Linked DNA regions of Homo sapiens: all the other regions are linked to region 7. The links are contacts of gene promoters, found by promoter capture Hi-C in blood cells and fetal thymus (Javierre and others, 2016). All regions are on one chromosome and are shown on one strand. Each heading gives the region's core, a stretch centred on a gene start or on the middle of the fragment in contact. The rest is flanking DNA. Distances are from core to core; before and after follow the strand shown. Region 1 overlaps LOC105375311 (a long non-coding RNA gene). Region 2 has its middle 59 kb from the start of LINC02946. Region 3 overlaps FHL2 (four and a half LIM domains 2). Region 4 has its middle 100 kb from the start of CD8B2. Region 5 overlaps FHL2 (four and a half LIM domains 2). Region 6 overlaps C2orf49 (chromosome 2 open reading frame 49). Region 7 holds the start of ECRG4 (ECRG4 augurin precursor).

Region 1 (2,935 bases), core at 322-2,821, 550 kb after region 7:
TGCCCATTATACTATTTGTGAACTTGCCTTAGCATTAATCTCAAATATAAACTGCTTGGAACTTAGAGGTTAATGTTGCTCTCCTGGTCCCCCTGAGGTGCCCAGCTGTATTATGGCATAGATACCTGACACAGCTGTGGCAAGAATGAGTGCACAAATGGATAGGGTAAGAGAATAGGGGATATCGGTTTGTTGCATTATAGATTCCAGAAATACTTAAATTTCATCACACATACTTAACCGTTCTGTTCTTACTTATCCCATATCCTAGATGAGGCCATTTGAACCCAGAGGTCCATGCCTGGCACATGGTCAGAACTAAATATATGTTAATGCCCTTCTGGTCTCTTTTTTTCCTAAAGACTAGATGACTCTGTGACTAGAACCCTTGAGAACACTCAAAGTCAGAGGATATAAATAAGCATATAGTAATGTGTGTCTACATTACTAAAAAACAACTGAAAATCTAATCTCACCCAAACTGAAACCAATTTGGCTAAAACAAGTAAGAAATATCTTGAAGGGGCAGCGCTCCCTGCTAGTTGTTCCAGTGCAAGTTCTTGATTGTCAGTTAGAAATAAAAAATTTTAAGCTGGGTATGGTGCTCATACCTGTAATCCCAGTGCTTTGGGAGGCTGAGGTTGGAGGATTGCTTGAGGTCAGCCTGGGCAACATAGCAAGACCCCATCTCTTAAAAAAAATTTATTTTTAAGTCAGCCAGGTGTGATGGTGCATGCCAGCTCCTCAGAGGTCAAGGCAGAGGGTCACTTCAGCCCAGAAATTTGAGGCTACAGTGAGCTATGATCATGCCACTGTACTCTAGCTCTAGTAGAGCAAGACTCTGTCCCCCCAAGAATTTTTATTTAAAGACAAACTGAAGTTTAGTAATAGCCTATGGTTTGAGTGCATGATATCTTCCAGTAAGTGGCGGTGTGGGGTTTAGCATCCTTCTTTTCTGTGATATTTAAACTAATTTATTCTTTGTATTTAATAAATGTTGAGTAACTACTTTGTCCAGAAAGTTTTTTATAGATACGGAAGAAAGGGAACCTGCGGTCTGTGAAGGGCAAAAGGCTAAATTGGGCTTCCATTTGTGCTATTTTCATGTATTAATTTAATATTTACTGAGTATAATAATAGTAGTCAATCTTTATTAGCTTTTACTTACTGTGAGCCAAACATTATTCTAAGCACCTCATCTATATTAACTAATTTAATTTTTATAAAAACCTTAGGAACAAAATGCTACTTTTAGCTGATTGTGCAAATGAGGATCCTGAGCACAGAGTTGAAGGGCCTGCCCAGAGCCACCCAGGCAGCAGGTGGCTGAGACAGCCCTGCCTGCATGGAGTTCAGCACTTACAGATTCCCAGGCTTGCAGAGGTCCAATAAATACTGGTTAGGAGCTCCTAGCATACATGCAAACTGATCAATGATAGCGCTATGCAGTGGAGAATGAACACCATGCCAAGAGGGCCCAGATGAGGGAGCAAGTGTGTCTCCCCAGGGGATGAGGCAGACCTTCCCCAGAGAGGTCACACTTACACAAGGCGTTAGAGGAGAAGCATGGTCCCTGGAAGATGCAGCAGCACACGTGCACAGACACAAGTGTGGGCTGCCTGGGAGCTGTCAAGGGGGTCAAATAGCCTGTGTGCATTGATGGGTGTTGGGGGCTGAGCTGGAGCTGCGGCCCCCGGTGTGTGAAGGGTTCCCCTCCTGGCCTAGGCTAAGGGTTCGGCATTCATCTTGCAGAGCCAAGGATGAGTTTAGCAGGGAATTAACTCCACCTGACTTTGGTGTGGATGACAAAGTGCAGTGCGGTGGGAAATGAGCTAATGTGGAGGACATCTGGGTCTTTGGACTCCTGGGGAAGCAGATCAGGGAGGCCAGATGTAGGCCTGACTCTGTCCATCAGCTGAGTGGCCTTCGTGAGAGGTGACTTCCTTGGTTGTGACCTGGGGATTAACAAACCAAACTCCCAAGTTTGTTGGGAGGATTGGATGAGGACAGTGCTTGCTCAGCACCTCTTATAAAGGAAACGCTCATCAACATTGGAGCTGGTCCCAGCCATGGACCCTTCCTAGCCCTGCCCCACCCCGCCTGCAGACCATGGCAGTCAGGCAGTGATGATACCGAGACAGACATCACTGAACACCTAGGCTGAGCCCCTGGCCGGCCAGCACCCCGGGAAGCAGGTCCAATGCAGGTGCAAACATGTTTCCTGTGAGGACTATGGTCCAGAGAGGCCAGGCCACCTCACCAGGTCACACATGTGTCATCAGGGGGCTGGGGTTCAAACCCAGTTCTGTTTGGCTGATTCTAAATCCCCACTGGCCCTCTCTATGCAAGTACATATAATACCTCTTGAGAGCCCATCAGTGCAGAAGGGATTCTGACTCTCTTTTCCCTCACATGCCTGCTTGGGACACATGGGCATGGCAGGACAAGAGGACCCCATCTAGAGCCGAAACTGCAGCCTCTGGGTGCACTCTTGTTGGTAAGTGTTCTGGGCATGCTGCCTATGGAGCCATGGCCTCCAAGCCTTTAGATGTCACCAGCTGGAAGCGGCTAACAGCAAGTCCCCTGGGACGTTCTCAAACCCACAGGCATTCTGCAAAGGGCAAGGGGTCAGTATAGAAGGCAGCATGGCAAGGGCTGAAAACCTGGCTGGGAGCCCCAGGCACTGGTCCCACATGCTCCTGGTCCTCTGGCCAGCCAAGTCCCTGGGTGCCTGCCAGAGTTCTGTAGCACAAATACCAGGGAGCTGGGGCCTGTGCCCTCAAAGGCAGCATTAAGTTATCAGAGAAAAATATACATACATACATAATACACATATATACACGTACATATATGTACACATATACACACACACATAAATATATGTTAATAATGCAAAGTTGGATCTTAGCCCTCAAAACAGACAAGGCCTCTATTT
Region 2 (2,966 bases), core at 127-2,626, 510 kb after region 7:
TTCTTTTTAAAGCAGTTTCTGCAATTGACCAGAGCAATTCTCAGATACCAGCTATTGGAAATTCTCACATAATCTTCACAGACATGCTTTTCTCCTTTTGTTATTGCTCTGTCAATAGCATTTGGCCAGGGGAAATGAGAATTTTCCCATTTCCCACTAAACGTCGTTAGATAAAAATTTTCCCCTGTTAACAGAAATGATTTTGCCTTATAAAAAGTTCTTATTCTTCTTGGAACCGAGATGACTCTCTAAGATCTGCAACTTTTTGAAAAGTCATTTGTGGCCGGGTGTGGCAGCTCACGCCTGTAATCCCAGCACTTTGGGAGGTTGAGGCAGGCTGATCACGAGGTCAGGAGTTCCAGACCTGCCTGGCCAAAATGGTGAAACCCCATCTCTACTAAAAATACAAAAAGTAGCAGGGTGTGGTGGCGTGTGCCTGTAATCCCAGCTACTCAGGAGGCTGAGGCAGGAGAATTGCTTGAACCTGGGAAGTGGAGGTTGCAGTGAGCCGAGATCGTGCCACTGCACTCCAGCCTGAGTGATAGAGCAAGACTTCGTCTTGAAAAAAAAAGAAAAGAAAGAAAGAAAAAAAAAAGTCATTTGTTCTATGCGGACCAAGTGCGTTTATGTTTTTCTTTAGAAGAAGATGTTATTTTCAACAATTTGGTAGAAATCTATGCCCAAGTAAGATTTTAAAATTCAGACCAGAGAAAAAGCAATGATATGAGCCCATTCTGTTTTTATGATTACCTGTATCATCTTGCTACTTAAGGCACTGATCGTGTGGTAAAATTACGCAAGAAGAGAATAATAGAACGGAATGTATTTACATTTTTGTTGTTGATTTTGTCTCCTTTTAGAAAATGCTTTGAGAAAATTTTATATCATGAAACAAATTGGTAAATAATTAATTTAACAAGTTATCAGCCACCTTGACATCTAACCAACATTGATTTTGCTTTAGGTATTATCACTATGAATATCAAGGTTATCAGTAATTTGGGGCTTACCTGCTGAAAATAGTAAGCTTCTACTTTGCCATTTTTCTTTTTCTGCACAAATTGTGTTGGCTGGTTTTACAGGCAGGTGGCCTACGCAGTCACATGGGGCCCTTGGCTCAGAGGGGCCCCCCACTTGGTTTAATGCTCTGCTCCTGTCATCTTGAAATTCATAATACTTTTATTTCCAAGCTTGTGTTTTGTATGTAAAGTTTGTAGTTCTAATTTGCATTTCCCTAATGACTGGTATTGTTGAGTATCTGCTCATATGCTTAGGATTTGCTACATTTTCATTTGCTTAGGATTTGCTATCTTTTCATTTGCTTGGAACTTGCTGTCCTTGTGTCTTCTTTCGTTAAGTGTGCGTTCAGATCCTTTGCCCATTTTTTAAGAAATGGGTGGTTTCCTTACTGAGTTTTGAGTGTTCCTTATGTATTCCATATACAAGATCTTTATTAGATTTGTGACTTGCAAACATATCCTGCTAGTCTGGTTTGTCTTCATTCTCTGGGTATCTTTTTATTCTCTTTGTATTTCTGTGTATCTTTCACAGAGCAAAGCTTTTAAATTTGATCATATTATTTTTATTTTTTATTTTATTTTTATTTATTTATTTATTTTGAGAAGGAGTTTTGTTCTTTCACCCAGGCTGAAGTGCAGTGGTACGATCTCGGCTCACTATAACCACCACCCCAGCCCCCGGGTTCAAGCGAGTCTCCTGCCTCAGTCTCCCAAGTAGCTGGAATTAATAGGCACCTGCCAACATGACCAGGTAATTTTTTGTATTAGCTTTTAGTAGAGATGGGGTTTTGCCATGTTGGCCAAGCTGGTCTCGAACTCCTGACCTCAAGTGATGCACCCACCTCGGCCTCCCAAAGTTCTGGGATTACAGGCATGAGCCACTGCACCCAAACTGATCAAATTAAATTTATCTTTTGAAGTCATATCTAAAAACTCTTTGATAAACTCTAGGTTATGTAGATCTTCTCCTACATTTTCTTTTGCACTTTTTTAAGTTTTATGTTTAATATTTAGGTCATAATCCATGAGCTAATATTGAAAAAGTTCTGAGGTGTATATTAAGGTTCTCTTTTTTTAATCCTTTGCTCAAATTACTATTAGTAATTCTCCATTGAATTATCTTAACATCTTTGTCAAAAATCAATTAACTATATTGTTTGGCCTTTCCAAACAGTTCCTGTGCTTATCCATATACATTTTAGAATCAGCTTACTGAGTCTTATTGATTCAAAAGTTTACTGGGACTTTGATTATGCTGAATCTCCACATCTAATTGGATAGAATTGACATCTTAACGGTATTGTATCTTCCAATCCATGAACATGATATATTTCTCCATTTATTTAGGTCTCCTTTAATTTCTCTCTTCAGTGTTTTGTAGTTAAGCATACTGATCCTGCACATCATTTGTTAGATTTATATCTAAGTTTTTTTACTTTTGGCTTAATACAGCAGAAATTTGTTTCTTGTAGTCTGAACTCTGAGAAGTCCAAAATCAAGGTGCTAGCAAAATTTGGTTGCTAGTGAGGGCTCTCTTCCTTATACCTAAGTATTTTATTTCTTGTGATGCTTTTGTAAATATTTGTAAAATTTCAAGTTCCAATCGTTTACTGTTCACATACAGAAATATGCTTCACGGCCGGGCCCAGCCAGGCATGTGGCTCACGCCTGTAATCCCAGCACTTTGCGAGGCCAAGACAGGTGGGTCACGAGGTCAGGAGATCAAGACCATCCTGGCTAACACGGTGAAACCCCGTCCCTACTAAAAATACAAAAAAATTAGCCAGGCGTGGTGGTGGGCGCCTGTAGTCCCAGCTACTCGGGAGGCCGAGGCAGGAGAATGGCATGAAACTGGGAGGCAGAGCTTGCAATGAGTCGAGATCGCGCCACTGCACTCCAGCCTGAGCGACTGAGCAAGACTCTGTCTCAAAAAAAAAAAAAAGGAAG
Region 3 (3,342 bases), core at 389-2,888, 700 kb after region 7:
TGAGTGGCATTGGAGAGGTTACCACTTGCCAGGGTTTTTGTTTTGTTTTGTTTTGTTTTGTTTTTGAGACAGTCTCACTCTGTTGTCCAGGCTGGTGTGCAGTGGCATGATCTTGGCTCACTGCAACCTCTGTTTCCAGGGTTCAAGCGATTCTCCTGCCTTAGCCTCCTGAGTAGCTGGGAATACAGGTGCACCACCACACTCAGCTAATTTTTTGTATTTTTAGTAGAGATGGGGTTTCGCCATGTTGGCCAGGCTGGTCTCGAACTCCTGACCTCAAGTGATCCACCTGCCTCGGCCTCCCAAAGTCCTGAGATTACAGGTGTGAGCCACCAGCCCTGCCAGGCTTCTAAGTAAGGACTCCTCATCAACTTGCCCAATTAACCTCATCACCCTCACTTCCTGGATGAGAAAACTGAAGTGCAGAGATCTTTATCATGACCTGCTCCCAGCCACAGGGCTGGTAAGGAGTAGGGTTAGGATTCAAACCCAGGTCTCCTTGATGCTGTATTGAATCCCGACCCCTCCACTGTGCTGCTTCCCTGCTCAGAAAGGTGGCAACACCACTGAGGCACCCTATGCCTTAGATCCCCAGCATCCCTGGGAAGGGCTGAGGGCAACCCCAAGCTCCAGTTTCACTAACGGGAAAGCCAGGGCCTATGACACTGGAATGAAAGCGTGTGGTGAGGGTGACGAGTGACTGTGAAGTTTGTAAAGCAGCTTCTTGGTGACTTAACAAACTGGACGTTTCTGGATGAGGATCTTGCATCGTCCAGTGGCAGTAGCTGAGACTGAAGATGTCTGCCAAGCACAGAGGCCACACTAACTCTCCCCCTCGTCCCTGCAGCCCATCACCACGGGAGGGGTCACTTACCGGGAGCAGCCCTGGCACAAGGAGTGCTTCGTGTGCACCGCCTGCAGGAAGCAGCTGTCTGGGCAGCGCTTCACAGCTCGCGATGACTTTGCCTACTGCCTGAACTGCTTCTGTGACTTGTATGCCAAGAAGTGTGCTGGGTGCACCAACCCCATCAGCGGTGAGTGTCCCGGGGTTCCCATTTCCAGGGGCGATTGGAAGCTTGAACAAGGCCTAGCATTTTAGCCTGTGACCCTGTCTATATCCCTCAACTCCCCAGACCTCCCTAAGGCTCTGAACACAGCAGACTTTTCTGCCTATCTGCTTTCCTCTCCTTGGTGCACTGGCTATGCTTCAGCAAGTAATGATTCCTTCCTCTGCAGCCCACCTGATCACAACCATATGGCCAGTGCTCCAGTTTAGTTTCTGCTTTGGGTTGGATTATCGCTAAAACTGCAGTCTGTGAGCCTGTGACATCACAAAAGCACAATAAAAACTGGCCTTTTCAGGCTTAGCAGCTGTGCTGTGTTCTTAGAAGTGTCCCCTAGCATCTTAGTGGGACGGTTGTACTCCAAAACATCTTAATGGGAAACTTCTACCACAAGGCCATAGCTATATGAGGGCAGAGGGTACATTCTAAGGAGTTTTTCATATTGTATTCCCCCAAAGAATTCAGCTAAGTGAGAGCCCAAAATCTGGCTGGCTGGCAGACCAGGCTTCTGGACTAGACTATTAAGCAGGCTGGAGAAATTCAGTGTGGAGAACAGAGGAGTTCACACTAAAGTCCTTTAAATGGTCACCACATATCGCTACACAAATGAGTGACTGGGTGGGGAGAGAAAAGTGTGTGTTCTGTAATAACACAGGAGAAGTTTTATGATGTGGGATTTGCAATCCCGTTGCATTCAGTTGACTGGTTCGTTCCTATCAGAGGAAGGTGGCAGACACTTGGAGTACCCGGTGGCCTGGCTTTCCTGTGTGGCTTTTCAGTGTAACTACAGAAACACATCTATACACCCCCTGTGTACTTGTCCTTGACTTTCCTTTCCCTTAGGCCTAGAACCAAGTTCACCTAACTCAGCTAACTCACCTTCCCAGGTCGCTAAAACAGTACTCTCATGTGTAATGCAGAGCTCATTACATTTCCATGTGAAATTAAAATATGAAGAAAAGCACAGTATTTACACTTTACCTATGTTAAAATATCTGTTTCTGGTCATTTATATACCAGATTTCCCTTGGAATCTTTTAGGGGGAAAATGTAATCTTTTGCCAGAACATATTCATCTTTAATGCTGTTTTCAGCAGTAACTTCTGTTGAGGTAAATGTTTATAACATTAAGCTTTATAAAGTGATACAATCTATATAAAAGCACTTTTAAATGTAAAACATTAGATATGAATGTGAATTGTGGTTATTGTGGCACTGAGAAAAAACACTAGGTAAAAACCAACTGTATTATAATCACGGACCAATGTACCTTAAATATTTGATTCCATTCTATCTGTCTGCAGCTTTCTCAGGATCTTCCCACTGCGACAATATCCCTCTCCCCTCATTCCCACCCACATCGCACTTTATCTGTGAGGCCTTTCCTGGCCATCCCAGGGAGGATTAACCTTTTCCTCTTCTACACTCCCTTCACTGCTTCAATCATTAAGTCATAAAAATTTGAGCACCAGGCAACGTGAGGCACCTAGTGAAGACATAAGAGAAATCTGCTCCCTCTTCTCATGGAGTTTCATTTTGTGGGAAAACACATAACAAATACACAGTCAGCATTCTTTGATCGCACTTATCCCATCGTTTTGGAACCAGTTTATATATCTCTTCTGATATTCACGAGATCCTCCAGGCTGTGCATAGAATCTGATTTACATATGGATTCCCAACACCCAGTCACTAGAAATTCACATTATCCATATTACACAATCCAAACTTTGAAATGGATCAAACCAGAATTCCTTCTTCAGTCCCAGTTGCCTGATTCTAACTTTCTTCATCCGGTATTATTTTCTCTCTGTTAACAGGACTTGGTGGCACAAAATACATCTCCTTTGAGGAACGGCAGTGGCATAACGACTGCTTTAACTGTAAGAAGTGCTCCCTCTCACTGGTGGGGCGTGGCTTCCTCACAGAGAGGGACGACATCCTGTGCCCCGACTGTGGGAAAGACATCTGAATTCAACACAGAGAAGTTGCTGCTTGTGATCTCACACACAGATTTTTATGTTTTCTTTCTCACCCAGGCAATCTTGCCTTCTGGTTTCTTCCAGCCACATTGAGACTTTCTTCTAGTGCTTTTCAGTGATACTCACGTTTGCTTAAACCCTTTAGTGCTTTGTGATAGTTCAGTCCCAGGGAAAGAGAAAACTCGCCCTAGGCCCTAGGTGGGAAGATGGTTTGAAATTTTTGTAATCGAGTAAGGCACACCCAAATGTAAAAATCCTTTTGAATGATGCCTTTATAAATCTTTCTCTCACTGTCT
Region 4 (2,889 bases), core at 29-2,528, 520 kb before region 7:
AATAACTAATATTAGGAGAAGGGTCCTAATACTACTATTTTTTTTTTCTTTGAGACGGAGTCTCGCTCTGCCGCCCAGGCTGGAGTGCAGTTGCACGACCTCAGCTCACTGCAAGCTCCGCCTCCCAGGTTCATGCCATTCTCCTGCCTCAGCCTCCCGAGTAGACTACTTCTAATACTAGTTCTTCATCAACCACATGTCAAGATAGAAGCAATGAGAAGTTGAACGGTAACTGTCAAGGAGGAGTATGGTTATATTTCCACCATTGGTGGCAAACCTCTGCCTGTGTGACTTGCGATATCGGCTAATGCTATTATGAACCCATCAGCACTAGACACAAAGACACTAAAAGACATTGAAAGACGTGAATAAGGATGTTGAAAGACATCCTTATTTCACCTTCAGCTCATCACTTAGTACTCGTATACAAGTTATGAGTAAATATACATATTGGGGGTGCACAGTCCAAAAAGTTTCAATGTCACTGCTCCAGAGCAATGTATATTAAACTTCTGGGAATATGAACCCTATACAGAATCTGGTGAAAGCCAAAGGTGCAACCTTAAATAAATACGCATTCATGCTAACTGTCACGAGGGCTTGGTCACCTCCAGGAGGCCCACCCGCATATTTATTTCTTTATTTTTATTTATTTATGAGAAGGAATCTCACTCTGTTGCCCAGGCTGGAGTACAGTGACGCCATCTTGGCTCACTGCAACCTCCCCCTCCCAGGTTCAAGCGATTCTCCTGCCTCAGCCTGCCGAGTAGCTGGGACTACAAGGCACCCGCCACAGCGCCGCCACCACACCCGGCTAATTTTTTGTATTTTTAGTGAAGACGGGGTTTCACCGTGTTAGCTAGAATGGTCTCAATCTCCTGACCTCGTGATCCACCCGCCTCGGCCTCCCAAAGTGCTGGGATTACGGCTGTGAGCCACCGCGCCCGGCCACGACCCACATACCTTTTAAGGGTCCGTGGACTCCAAAGGTAAGAAAGAATCCGTACTCTTGTTAGAAATGTTGGCTTATACTTTGATTTAGGTTAAAGGGTGGCGAGTGCTTTCTGTTCATTCTTCTGAAGTGAACAGAAGCAATGAAAACCTAAGTCTCATATTTTAGACAAGAAACGAACATAATGGGAAGGTTCACAGGCGGCATAGGATTTCCCCACTCGCTGCGCATACCCTGGATGGGCAGCAGGGGGCAGCGGAGCACAAGAGGACCGGGACCACAGCGCCCGGAGGCTGATACCCCGCAGCTGATCCACAACACTGCAAGCTCACCCCAAAGAGGGGCAGTGTGTGAACCCAGAGGACTCTCGTCAAGTGAAATAAGACAGGCATGAAGGACAAACACCGCAGGATCTCACTCCTATCTGGAACCTTAAAAAGTTGATTTCATGGAGGTATAGAGTAAAATAGTGACCAGGCGCTGGGGAGAGCAGGGGGGAGGCAGGGAACCAGAGAAGTTGGTCATCCGGGCAAAGTCACAGTTAGGAGGAATGATTTCTGTTACACAGTAGGGTGACCATAGGAAATAATGTAGTGTATATTTCAAGATAACCAGAAGATACTCAATGTTGTCACCACAAAGAATAAACGTCTAAAGTAATGGATGTGGTAATTATTCCAATTTGATCATTGTGTGCATTGAAACATCACACTGTACCCCATACACTTGTACAATGATAATGTGTCAATTATACATTTTTTTAAAATCCCATTAACAAAAAAAAGAAAAAGGAAAGAAAAGGGACCAATTGTCCTCTGCCAAACTGAGTATTCTAGGCTTGGCTAGATCTGTATGGCCAAAGAAAAATGAGGCAAAATAATTAAACTCTCAAATGTCACCTAGAAAAACCAACAGCACACACTATCTAAACCCACGCAGTTATTACGTGGGAAGCCGAGGCACGAAAATTGCTTGAGGTCAGGAGTTCCAAACCAGCCTGGGCAACATCTACAAGCAACAATATCCCGTCTCTACAAAAATACAAAATTAGCTGAGCATGATGATACTGTAGTCCTGGCTACTCAGGAGGCTGAGGTGGGAAAATTGCTTTAACCCAGGATTTTGAGTCCGCAGTGAGCCTTGATGGCACCACTGCACTGAGCCTAAGCCACCGAGTAAGAAGACCCTCTTACATACATACATAAATGAAATACATACATACATAAATACATACATAAAATCTATTTAAAGCAATTAAAATTTCTACTGCTACTATAGTATAACACAACTAGATTCAAAACAGTCTTCTCAACAAAGCAGAGTATTTTTCAAGCAACAATTCTAAGCCACACGCTGCCGTCCCCTACTCAGTATCCACCCCTAGCCCACACAACTCGCTACCCTCGGCCCTGACTCACTCAACTACCTACCGGACCCCACTACCCACCTACACCCCGTGTAAACCCACGCACTATCTACACCGTACCCCATTCCACTCATTTAACTCCACGCTTATTAACTTACCTTCCCCAAACACATACCTGCTCACAACCTACCTCTCATTCTAAGTAACAAATATAAAATCATTGTCAAAAGCATTGACATACTTGCAGTACTCTTCCCTGCAGAAATACTATCTTTCCTTTTACTGAAATCTTTTGTGATCCTCCGGTAAATACCAGTTTTTTTATCTACGATTTTATGGCTTCTGTTGGCTTAGTCTATTTGTTGTTGTAAACAAAATATTTTCCATAACATATTCAACATTATTATTGCAGTGTAAGGAAAACAATTGACTTTTATCTACTTACTTTCTACGTTGGGACTTCTCTGAACTCTTGCTTATAAGTTCGTGAAACGATTCTCGTGAGTCTTCCCTCAAAATGTTTTCACGTATAGGAAATGTTGTTGGAATCACAGCAAAAAGAGTGGTGATG
Region 5 (3,168 bases), core at 375-2,874, 680 kb after region 7:
GGCCAATCTCTTCTCTTAAAATAGCACAGCCACCACAGGCCTCAGCTACTTCCCTCTAAAGGACATGTTCATGTGTGTGAGTTTTAAATGTTGGCATGCCTATGGGAATTAGGCTAATTTTGAGAGTCCTGACCTACTTAAATGAGACAGGCAAGACTTCAGAGCCTGTTATATAGTTTGAACATCCTCTCTATGTAGCCACTGAATTGTAATCTTTATTTCTATTAAGTTACTCTGGGAAAATGCTGTGATCTCAAAGGGTAAAGATTATTGATTTGTATGGCCAGTGTAATAGTGGAGAATAGACAATGCTAATACAATTTTATGATCCTCTGACATTACATGCTTCCTGAACCTTTTCTTGGATACCTGTTAGCATTAACAAAATATTTTCGTAGACTGATTACAGAGTTTTTGGGGGATCTGCCTACGTTCTGGGCTTCAAAAATTCAACCAACTAAAGAAAAAATAGGGCTGGGCACAGTGGCCCACGCCTGTAATTCCAGCACTTTGGGAGGCCGAGGCAGGTGGAACACTTGAGGCCAGGAGCTGGAGACCAGCCTGGCCAACATGGCGAAACCCCGTCTCTACTAAAAATACAAAAATAAGCTGGGTGTGGTGGCGTGCACCTGTAATCCCAGCTACTTGGGAGGCTGAGGCAGGAGAATCATTTGAACCTGGAAGGTAGAGGTTGCAGTGAGCCAAGATTGCGCCACTGTACTCCAGCCTGGGTGACAGAGCAAGACTCCATCTTAAAAAAATAAAAATAAAAAATAGGCTGGCCAATAACTCCAGAGACAGCTGCTAATACTGTGCATTTAACAAATTGGTGATTTTAAGCCCTGGGCGACACACGTAACCTAGACTTTGAATGTTCCATGGGTCTGCAAGCAATGCCATGAAATTGGACTGGCCACCATACCCACCCATGTGCTTGGAGGGTGCTACAAAGAGAAAAAAAAAATAATAAACAAGAACAAAAGATCTGCAGATCAGAAACTAGCATTCAGGGTTTAGTTTCTAGTGGTAGTCTTTGAAACCACTGTGTATTGCCTGATGACTTGTTCCAGGCACTTGTAAATGCCTAAACTGCATGATCTAAATTTCTCCTAACACCCTATAGGTAGGAACTTTTTTCATTCCATTTTATGGAGTAGCCGCTGAGGCCTAGAGAGGATGAGGATCTTGCCAAGGGTTAAAGGGATTAGGAAGTATCCGAGGTACAATTTGAGCCCAGACCCGGAGGGTCCTCACCTAGCATGTGATGCCACCTGCTACCTGCAGCCTCGGGCAGGACCCTGTCTATGTGACTCTCGGGCCAGATGTGGTCAGTCCTTATGAGTAAGAGATGGTGACCACCTGGCCTCAATCAAGTGACCTTCAGTCAGAGGCCCCTACTCTTCTCATGGGCCCCTTTAGATGGTGATGATTACATTGCAGAATTGAGGCTCAAGTTGTTTCACAAACTCTCTTTCCAGCTTTTGTAGCTAATAGGAAACATTGAAGTGATGATCAAATTGGCTGTAAAAGTCTCAGTTAATGTTTGGTAATGGACAGAAATGTTCAGTGATATTTTGGCAGAAAGCAACCTGGCAGGGCTCTGAAATAGGAGACGAAGGTTTTCACACATACAGGTTAAATCTAGATGCCCCTAGTATATTTTGGAAGGTTTCTGACCAAGCCTAGTGAAAGGTGTAAGGTCAGGTTTGAAAAACCCACCCTTCTGTCCTCGGTGTAACACAGGCCTCCCTCGCTGGTCTTTCTGGACCCTTTTCTGGGAAGAGCACCTACTCCAGTCACATTCTCAGGGTCCAGCCTGCCAACCTGGTGCTTTTTTATTTGTTGGGGTGGTTTTTAAGTTCTCAATGAGCAAATTACCTTCTTGGATCTTCTTCCGTGTAGAATTTGTCCACAGAGTTTGTAACGAGCACTGAAAACGCGTATTTATTTGGATTTCCTCCTAAAAGACAAAAATCTGTCTGTGAAGGGAATTTAATCAAGCAGGGTCCTAGGATCAGAAGCAAAGCTGTCTGGATGGATTTCATGAGAAGGGCCTGTCAGTGCACGAACTTGGCCTGTCAGTGCATAAAACCAAAAGTTCAGCCACAAGACATAGCAGCAGAGGTGCACAGCGCTCAGCAGTGACCTCGCATGCACCGAGGCTGGACCCCGGAACCAAATCTCCCTGGCTCCACCTTTGACAAGCTGCGCGAAGGGGACAAGTCCTGCCACCTATAAGCCTCCGTTTCCATGTCTATACACTGGGGTTCCTAGCTCACGGGACTGTCGGGGTAATTGAGTGAGTTAACGTCTAGGGAGCACCTGTGACATGCCAACACAGTGCTGTCATTTCTGCTGTTGTCCATTTTTCTGCATCTTTATTTGTAAGGATTTGAAAGAATGTACAGTTGGAAACCTGATGATCTCAAGCAGAAAATATCTTTTCATAACGCTGAGCATGAATGACATGAGAATCCATGTCTGAAGTGAAATCGTATGGATCTGAAGAATGGTTGGTGCCAGCCCTGGTGGAATGGGGTGCGAAGGAGGGAGGATGAGAGCCAGACGTTTCAGTCTGGGTGACCCTGCCACCCAGAGCCACCTTCCATTAACTGAGGGGTCCAGGGCTCCCTCCAGGCCACTTGCCACTAAAGCTCAGCTAAAGTCTCAAAAAGGACACATTCGGAGCCAAGCAACAGGCACAGCCCATGTTAGGAATGTTTCTGCAATGGAAAAATACAAAACCAGAAAGGAAGTGTGTGGGCCTAATCGTACATGTTTATCAACATTTTACTGCAATGTATGACATTTCTGTGAGCACAAGATTAGCCTTGGTATTTTTTTCTGGGAAGTATAAAAGACTTTTTTTTTCTTTCTTTTTGTTTTCAATTTCTCTCTAGAGGAATTTAAAACCGGATATTTCCATCTTAAAGTTCTTGAGCAAGTCTGTCAAGGTGTCCATATTTCTTACCCTGTTCCTCTCAGCATCGAAGTGCTATCTCTGTTACACTCATGTTTGCTGTTCACAATGGAGTACTAATGAAATAGCAAAATTAAGCTACCGGCATGGTGCTAATAACTGAAACTAAAAATCGGTTTGGAGCTTTTCTGTTTGGAAAGAGTCACTTGAGCCGGGCGTGGTGGCTCATGCCTGTAATTCCAGCACTT
Region 6 (3,304 bases), core at 63-2,562, 730 kb after region 7:
AGGAACATACTCCCCTTTACCCCTACCCTCCTACTCTGTCTTCTCTCACTGCTTCTAGTGGATTGCCTATGACGGTGCCTTACAAATAGAAGGCCCTAAAAAAAAATTAATTGATCAATAGTATCCACTTGAGATATAATAGACACAGAAGAGTTCACTTAAGGATCTTAGGACACTTTGTACTTATTAACCAATCAACAACACTGATTAATCAAATGTAATTTTCTTTAAAAAAGAAAAAATCACTTGCTTGTGGTTTTATAAAACTGTTTTTGAAATTAAATAATTTTAAATAGCATAACTTAAGCTAGTTAACAGGCCCTTCATTTGTGTATTATTCAAAGACCTTAGAGTTTTACCTGACTTGACTTTTTCCTCAAAATTCAGGAAATCCTATTGGCTCTATCTTCAAAATACATGCATGCTCCAACCCACCAAATTTACTATTGTAGTCAAAGCTGCTGCCATCTATTGCCTGGATTACAGTACAGGCTTCTAATTTGTTTCCCTGCTTCCAGTCTTATACACACCGCTTCCCCTCCCCACACACCTTAAATCACTTCTTAGGACAGCAGCCAGAGTCATCTTGTCAAAATGTACATCTAATGATGTCACCACTCTGCTTAAAACCTTCTAGTGGCTTCTCATCTGAGTACAGCCAAAGTCCTTACAATGACTTACAAAGCTTTACATGATCTGACAATCTCTCCCGTTTGCCCCCAGTACAACTCGTTCTTCCTACTTCTCCATCCAGCCCTGATAGCTGCTTTGTTGTTCCTGGTATATGATGGGCACATTCCAGATCCAGCCTCTTGTATTCTGCCTGGAATCCTAGCTTGTTTTCTTCTTCCTACAGGTCTCTCTACTAAAATGTCATTTTTCACTAAGATCTTCCTGGATAATTTACCAAAAATTGTAATCTTTCTCCCTGGCCTTTATTACTATATAACAATACCATATTTTAACTGTTGTTATGTTTCTCCCATCAAAAATATGAGCAGGGAATTTTGTCAGTTTTATTCACTGCTATACGCACAGTGCCTGGTGCTCAATAGATAGTCATTGAGTAAATAAATTTTTTACTTAAGTTTATCTCAGGAAAAATCAATAACTTATATATAACTTTAGTTATATAAGATAAATTGAAAGCTAGAACCACCAAAAAGTACCTTTTAGTCTCATTTTTAATCTCATGTTGTTCTCTTTTCTTTTCCATCATTTTCCCCCATCTATTCTTCGGCAAATCCCTCTGAGGCAATGGTATTGCATGTTGGACATAAAGGTCAGTAAGACTGTCTTTGTTTACTCTTACATCAGTTTCAACAGCTATGTTCTTCTGCGGGAAAGGAAACAAAAGTAATTTCAAAACAATGTTTTTAATTTTAACAAGTAACCACCTTACCTAACATGGTAAAACATTACTGCTTAAATAACAAATTATAAAAAGCCATTTTCACAATAACACGCGCACTTAGAGACAGTGTTAAAGGTTAAATTCTGTAGATACTAGGTTCAGCCTCATCTTAAAAACAATGGTCATATTTTCTCAGTGTGACAGGGATTGCTGTCCACAACTGCTCAGCCAACACACCAAGCATGAAAGATCATTTCCAGTAAAATTATCTTAATATACAAAGGGGATTGAAAATGGGAGACTGCCTGTTGACAAAAGAAAGCTAACAATGATTAACAATCACCACATTCTGTCAATAAGCTACCTTGAGTGTTACTATCATGATCAGATTAGTGGGATGAAGGTCTCAGTCTGTCTTATATTTCTCGTGCTTCTCTAATCTGGTGCTTCCTAAATTGAAGTTAACTACCAAGATTTCAAATAATACCACAAATAGAAACTGTTATTCCCGTACTGACGACAGTAGCAGTACATCATTAGAAAAGCCTGCACCCCATTTTCACTGGTCCTTTCAAGTAAGCTTCCAGTCATTGTCCAACCATCTCTATCTAAATCACCAAATTCTTCCTCATTTTCCAATTTGTTCTTGACATCATGAAAAACATAGCATAAGCACAGGAGTAGTCATGAAGACAGAGTTTGGATTTAAGAAGGAGAAATGAGAATGGAAATGAGATCACAGGCTCTTCAATTTCAACTCAGAAAGGCTTGAAAACATTTGTGTTTAGTACCACCGACAAGCCTATATCCTCTAACAAAAACTAATAAAAGCACATTTTACTTCTCTTTCGTATATTAGACTCATCTATTTTTAGCCCGTACTCGCTCAGAAGTAGGGGAAACTACCAGGATTCTCTTGGACAACGTTCCCAGAGAATTCATAAGCCCATTACTTTGGAAAGTATTGCCTTAGGACAGTGGTGGTCAAAGCATGCTTTCTGGGCCAGCAACAAGCTCGTTAAAAATGCAAGATTTCGGGCCACATTCCGGAACTACTGAACGAGAAACTGAGGACGGAGCCCAACAATCTGTGTTTTAGCAAGTCCCTCGACTCATTCTTAAGTACCTAAAAAGTTTGAGAACCACAGGTAAAAACTTACTGACATAATTAAGCTCTACGTGGCAAGAGGACCTGAAATTCAACAAAGATAGGGTACTAAGGGGAAAGCCATATGAAAAACAACAAAATACGCTACATAAACCCCAAGGAAACTTCCAGTAATTCTCTATCACTTAAAACATCACTTTTTTCCTTTCTCACTTTTCTCCTATTATCAGAGGCCACACCAGCTGGAAAAGAGCACGCACTACATGGAGAGCCAGGAGCCCTGAATTCTCCTCCCGGAAGTACCATTTACAGATGTTGTGACCTTAAACAAGTCACTTCATCTCTCTGGAACTGTTTTTATCATCTTTAAACGATTAGAAGGTGTGGAATGGACGGTTTCTCAGATGCTTTCCAGTCCTGACAGTCCATGATTTCTACATTCCATGTCTATTCCACGCTTCTTTCTTCCTCAGGTCGGGGCTTACACACAGGCAGGGGGTGTCGCCTGGGACTCCTCTTTACAAGCCATCGGGACTCAGATAGATAAGCCCTATTTCCCAAGCATTCCTGATATTCTACGGACGTCTCATTTTTGGAGAGGGGGCGAGGAGCAGGAGCGAGGAGACAGCTGCCTGGTCTGTGTGGGTGGAGAGTGACACAAACCCGGCGGGAGTGTCCGTGGTTGCCGAGGGCTACTTAAGGCAAGCTCGGGTGCAAGCGCCTCACCTGGGAAGGCCCACCCGCCCACCCTCCGATCCGGCGCGCCCAACCTGCTCCAGAGTGAGGAGAAGGAACTCCTGGGACAGCAGCTCCGGGTGCAGCAGCAGTTCCGAGTCCGTGCA
Region 7 (3,200 bases), core at 612-3,111:
GCAGTGAGCCAAGGTCACGCCATTACACTCCAGCCTGGGCAACAAGAGCAAAACTCCATCTCAAAAAAAAAAAAAATATTTTCACTGTATAAGAACTTTCACATCCCAGCTCGGTGATGATATTTTAACTGAGTTATTGGTATAAACTAAATAAAATACAAGTCCTGAAAATAAATGGCTTGTAGCCAGTGCTCACTTGACTTATTCAGATGTGCTTTTTTCTTCTTCTTCTTTTATTTATTTCTTTTTTTATTTTGCGACGGAGTTTCACTCTTGTTACCCAGGCTGGAGTGCAATGGCACGATCTCAGCTCGCCGCAATCTCCTCCTCCCAGATTCAAGCAATTCTCCTGCCTCAGCCTCCCGAGTAGCTGGGATTACAGGAACGTGCCATCACGTCTGGCATTTTTAGTAGAGACGGGGTTTCTCCATGTTGGTCAGGCTGGTCTCGAACCCCCGACCTCAGGTGATCTGCCCCCCCCCCCCCCCCGGCCTCCCAAAGTGCTGGGATTACAGGTATGAACCACCAAGGCCGGCCCAGATGTGCTTCTTAAAGTGGCAAGAACAAAGAGTGGGAGGCAGGTAAACCATACAACGGGAAATGACTGATTAGCTTCGCCTGTGATTCTAAGGTGGAACAATAATCCTCCCCACCTGAACAGACCTCACCACGCCTCCTGCTGTTTTAGCAACCCCGGGGCTCCATCCCAGGGCTCCTACTGAATGTCCCCTGCCTCTTCTCACCTCGAGTTCAGTTTCCATACCTGTTTCGAATGAGCAAAATACAGAAACTGAGCAACCGAGTGAGCCTCCCTTTTACATTAGGCAGTGCCCAGCTGCTTTGCAGTGGGACAGCGCCAGTCTCAGGCTCTTGGGCAAGTCACTTCATACACCAGTAACTCTGAGGTAACAATCCCTGCCTCCCCTAGTTGTAAGCTTCAAAGGCAGTCATGTGTCCTTGAGGCCACTTGTGAACCATAAATGTTCCTCCTACCCAGTGAAGGTGGTAACTCAGGACAAACCACGGCTTCAGATTATGGTTCCTAAAGTGGGGCCTGTGGAGCCCAGCGATCAGATATCGGAGCACCCATCATTCTGGGTGTGCGTGTGAATGCACGTTTTACAGAGAGCGAGCAGAGAATTTCAGAGTTTTCAACCGATTCGCTGGGAGCTCCACGAAGCAGGAAAGATTAAGCATTACTCCTTTAAGAGCCTTTCCCCTCTCTGGGGTGTGAGGCCTGTGCCCAGCTTTGCAAATTGCAACTTGACCCAGCTGGGAAGCGCAAGTCAACTTGGTTGCTAAGCGACTGCCTGGAAGGGAATGGCGGTGATGGTGCCATTTGCCTCCTCTGGGTTACCAGCTGCGTAAAGCCCCCACAACCCTTTTGCCCCTTACGTTAAGCCACGAAACACTACTTGCCCACCCTTCGGACGCCTGGCCCTCCTTGCCCAAGGTTGCCCGGGAGATCTGAGACCCTCCCCTTGACCCCGGTACTCTCTCCACCCTCACAAGGGCACCACTTCGCACTTGTGCGAGTGCAAAACCCCAGACCCGGTCCTCTACCACCCCTTGGCCCTGCCTAGGCTAAGGATGGGTCCCTACGCCGCCACCCCATCACCGATCGCTCTCCCCGGGCACCATGGAAGCGCCACATGGGGCCAACCCCTGGTGCCGCTATCAATCAGCCTGGCATCGCCCCGCTCACCTGGGCCCCAGCACAGGAGCAGGAGCAGCGCCAGCCCGGTCAGGGCCAGGACAGCAGGCCGCGCGGGGGAGGCAGCCATGGCGGCGGGGCGCGAGCAGGAGGGCGAGGGGCGCACTTCGAGGTGCTGCGAGGGAGAACCGGGCGCGGGAGAGGGGTGCGAGCGGGCAGGCGCGGCCGCGGGTTATCCCTGCGTCGCTGCCGGGGCGGGACCCAGCGGGTGGGCGCCGCGCCAGAGGGCTGAGGGCCAAGCGGCTGCGCCCAGCGCACGGGCGAGTACCACCGAGGTCCTCTCTCCCGCCCCGGCCCCAAGGGGAACGCAGCCCCTGGGCTCCAAGGCCAAGGATGCTTGGCCACGGAGAACCGCCGGCGGCGGGGGCCGCGTGGCCAGCGCTGCCCGCAGCGAAAGCGGTTAGGACAAGCTGGGTTCCGGAGACCCAAGGAAGGGCAGAAGGCATCGGGAGAAGGGACGAGGCCCCCTGGCCACTCAGAGGGAGGACTTGCCGGATCCCAGCGCTGGGGTGTCTCCTTGGCTCCCCCACTTCCTCCGCCCGCCCCAGCCGCGCCACTGTTCCCCTTACTCCTCACCCCTTTCTTCCCTATCTCCCTCCCTCCCTGCTTGGGGGCCTTGCTTCTGCCTGGTTTGTAAAGTGGGCTTTGGAATTTCCTTAGTTCAGAGCTGCTCTTAAGGATGCCTTAGGCGGGGCTGTTTTTGAGATAGTTTGAAAGATTCCACAGTCTGGGTTCAGAGCTGCAGTCCGGGAAATCGTCTCACCCAAACTTCTCCAATAGAAAAGCCTTTGAGAAACCAGGAACCTGGTGCCCTGCAGCTGTGAGCAAAACCACTGCTTCCCTTTGCCCGCTCTGTAATCTGGGCACACTTCAGCGAGCGATGTTAAGGTGAGACCCAAGGGAAACGCAGAACTGCATCCCAGTAACTGGCCTGTTCAACTGTAGAGGACACGTGAAAGGAGGCGTAGTGAACAAAAACTAGAACAACTTTATCCCAACGGACTCTGAGCGGGTCACCTAATTATTCTCTCCAGGCCTGGGCTACAAAAGGATGGAGATGTGAGATTACCTTTCCTGTCTTCCCATCTCAGATCTGCCCTGAACTGAGCTGATTACCTCTTTCCTTCACCAAGGTTCTCACTTATTTTCCCCTCCCTGAGACGGAGTTTCACTCTTGTTGCCCAGGCTGGAGTGCAGTGATGGGATCTCAGTCACTGCAACCTCCAACTCCGGGGTTCAAGCGATTCTCCTGCCTCAGCCTCCTGAGTAGCTGGGATTACAAGGCATGTGCCACGAGGCCCAGCTAATTTTGTATTTTTAGTAGAGAAGGGATTTTACCATGTTGGCCAGGCTGGTCTTGAACTCCTGAACTCAAATGATTCACCCGCATCGGCCTCCCAAAGTGTTAGGATTACAGGTGTGAGCCACCACACCGGCCAGTATTTTTATACCCTCCAGTGGTAAGCACTTACTGTCTCTCCATATA

What was found. The method cuts DNA at HindIII sites, captures the fragments that hold promoters and counts their contacts. A CHiCAGO score of 5 or more calls a contact.
Region 1: a fragment that was not itself captured here is called in contact with the fragment with the promoter of ECRG4 in region 7 in 4 of 17 cell types (neutrophils, naive CD4 T cells, total B cells and 1 more); the score reaches 8.3 in neutrophils.
Region 2: a contact is called between a fragment that was not itself captured here and the fragment with the promoter of ECRG4 in region 7, in 11 of 17 cell types (non-activated CD4 T cells, activated CD4 T cells, total B cells and 8 more). The highest score is 12.5, in non-activated CD4 T cells.
Region 3: a fragment that was not itself captured here is called in contact with the fragment with the promoter of ECRG4 in region 7 in 11 of 17 cell types (total CD4 T cells, naive CD4 T cells, total B cells and 8 more); the score reaches 12.1 in total CD4 T cells.
Region 4: a fragment that was not itself captured here is called in contact with the fragment with the promoter of ECRG4 in region 7 in 1 of 17 cell types (monocytes); the score reaches 6.4 in monocytes.
Region 5: a contact is called between a fragment that was not itself captured here and the fragment with the promoter of ECRG4 in region 7, in 4 of 17 cell types (naive CD4 T cells, total B cells, naive B cells and 1 more). The highest score is 7.0, in naive CD4 T cells.
Region 6: a contact is called between a fragment that was not itself captured here and the fragment with the promoter of ECRG4 in region 7, in 5 of 17 cell types (naive CD8 T cells, activated CD4 T cells, total CD4 T cells and 2 more). The highest score is 8.7, in naive CD8 T cells.

Annotation. Positions count from the first base shown.
Region 1 is chr2:105,517,711-105,520,645 of GRCh38, reverse strand. All of the region lies in intron 1 of LOC105375311 (a long non-coding RNA gene), which reads right to left. Among named protein-coding and RNA genes, the nearest start is that of LINC02946, 91 kb to the left of the region's middle. The HindIII fragment of the contact is 4,918 bases long and covers 1-2,935 here.
Region 2 is chr2:105,550,533-105,553,498 of GRCh38, reverse strand. No RefSeq gene overlaps it. Among named protein-coding and RNA genes, the nearest start is that of LINC02946, 59 kb to the left of the region's middle. The HindIII fragment of the contact is 368 bases long and covers 1,193-1,560 here.
Region 3 is chr2:105,360,977-105,364,318 of GRCh38, reverse strand. FHL2 (four and a half LIM domains 2) reads left to right here. Exons shown (of 7, transcript NM_001318895.3): 6 at 848-1,034; 7 at 2,885-3,342. The coding sequence ends at 3,036. It also overlaps a transcript of C2orf49 not described here. Among named protein-coding and RNA genes, the nearest start is that of C2orf49, 25 kb to the right of the region's middle. The HindIII fragment of the contact is 1,121 bases long and covers 1,078-2,198 here.
Region 4 is chr2:106,585,888-106,588,776 of GRCh38, reverse strand. No RefSeq gene overlaps it. Among named protein-coding and RNA genes, the nearest start is that of CD8B2, 100 kb to the right of the region's middle. The HindIII fragment of the contact is 4,259 bases long and covers 1-2,889 here.
Region 5 is chr2:105,380,490-105,383,657 of GRCh38, reverse strand. The region is part of intron 3 of FHL2 (four and a half LIM domains 2); the gene reads left to right. It also overlaps a transcript of C2orf49 not described here. Among named protein-coding and RNA genes, the nearest start is that of FHL2, 17 kb to the left of the region's middle. The HindIII fragment of the contact is 4,389 bases long and covers 1-3,168 here.
Region 6 is chr2:105,337,615-105,340,918 of GRCh38, reverse strand. C2orf49 (chromosome 2 open reading frame 49) reads right to left here. Exons shown (of 4, transcript NM_024093.3): 1 at 3,233-3,304; 2 at 1,170-1,336. Among named protein-coding and RNA genes, the nearest start is that of C2orf49, 1.7 kb to the right of the region's middle. RefSeq lists an enhancer at 3,287-3,304. The HindIII fragment of the contact is 1,249 bases long and covers 688-1,936 here.
Region 7 is chr2:106,064,349-106,067,548 of GRCh38, reverse strand. It overlaps ECRG4 (ECRG4 augurin precursor), which reads right to left and starts at 1,861. Exons shown (of 4, transcript NM_032411.3): 1 at 1,706-1,861. The coding sequence starts at 1,784. The HindIII fragment of the contact is 9,592 bases long and covers 938-3,200 here.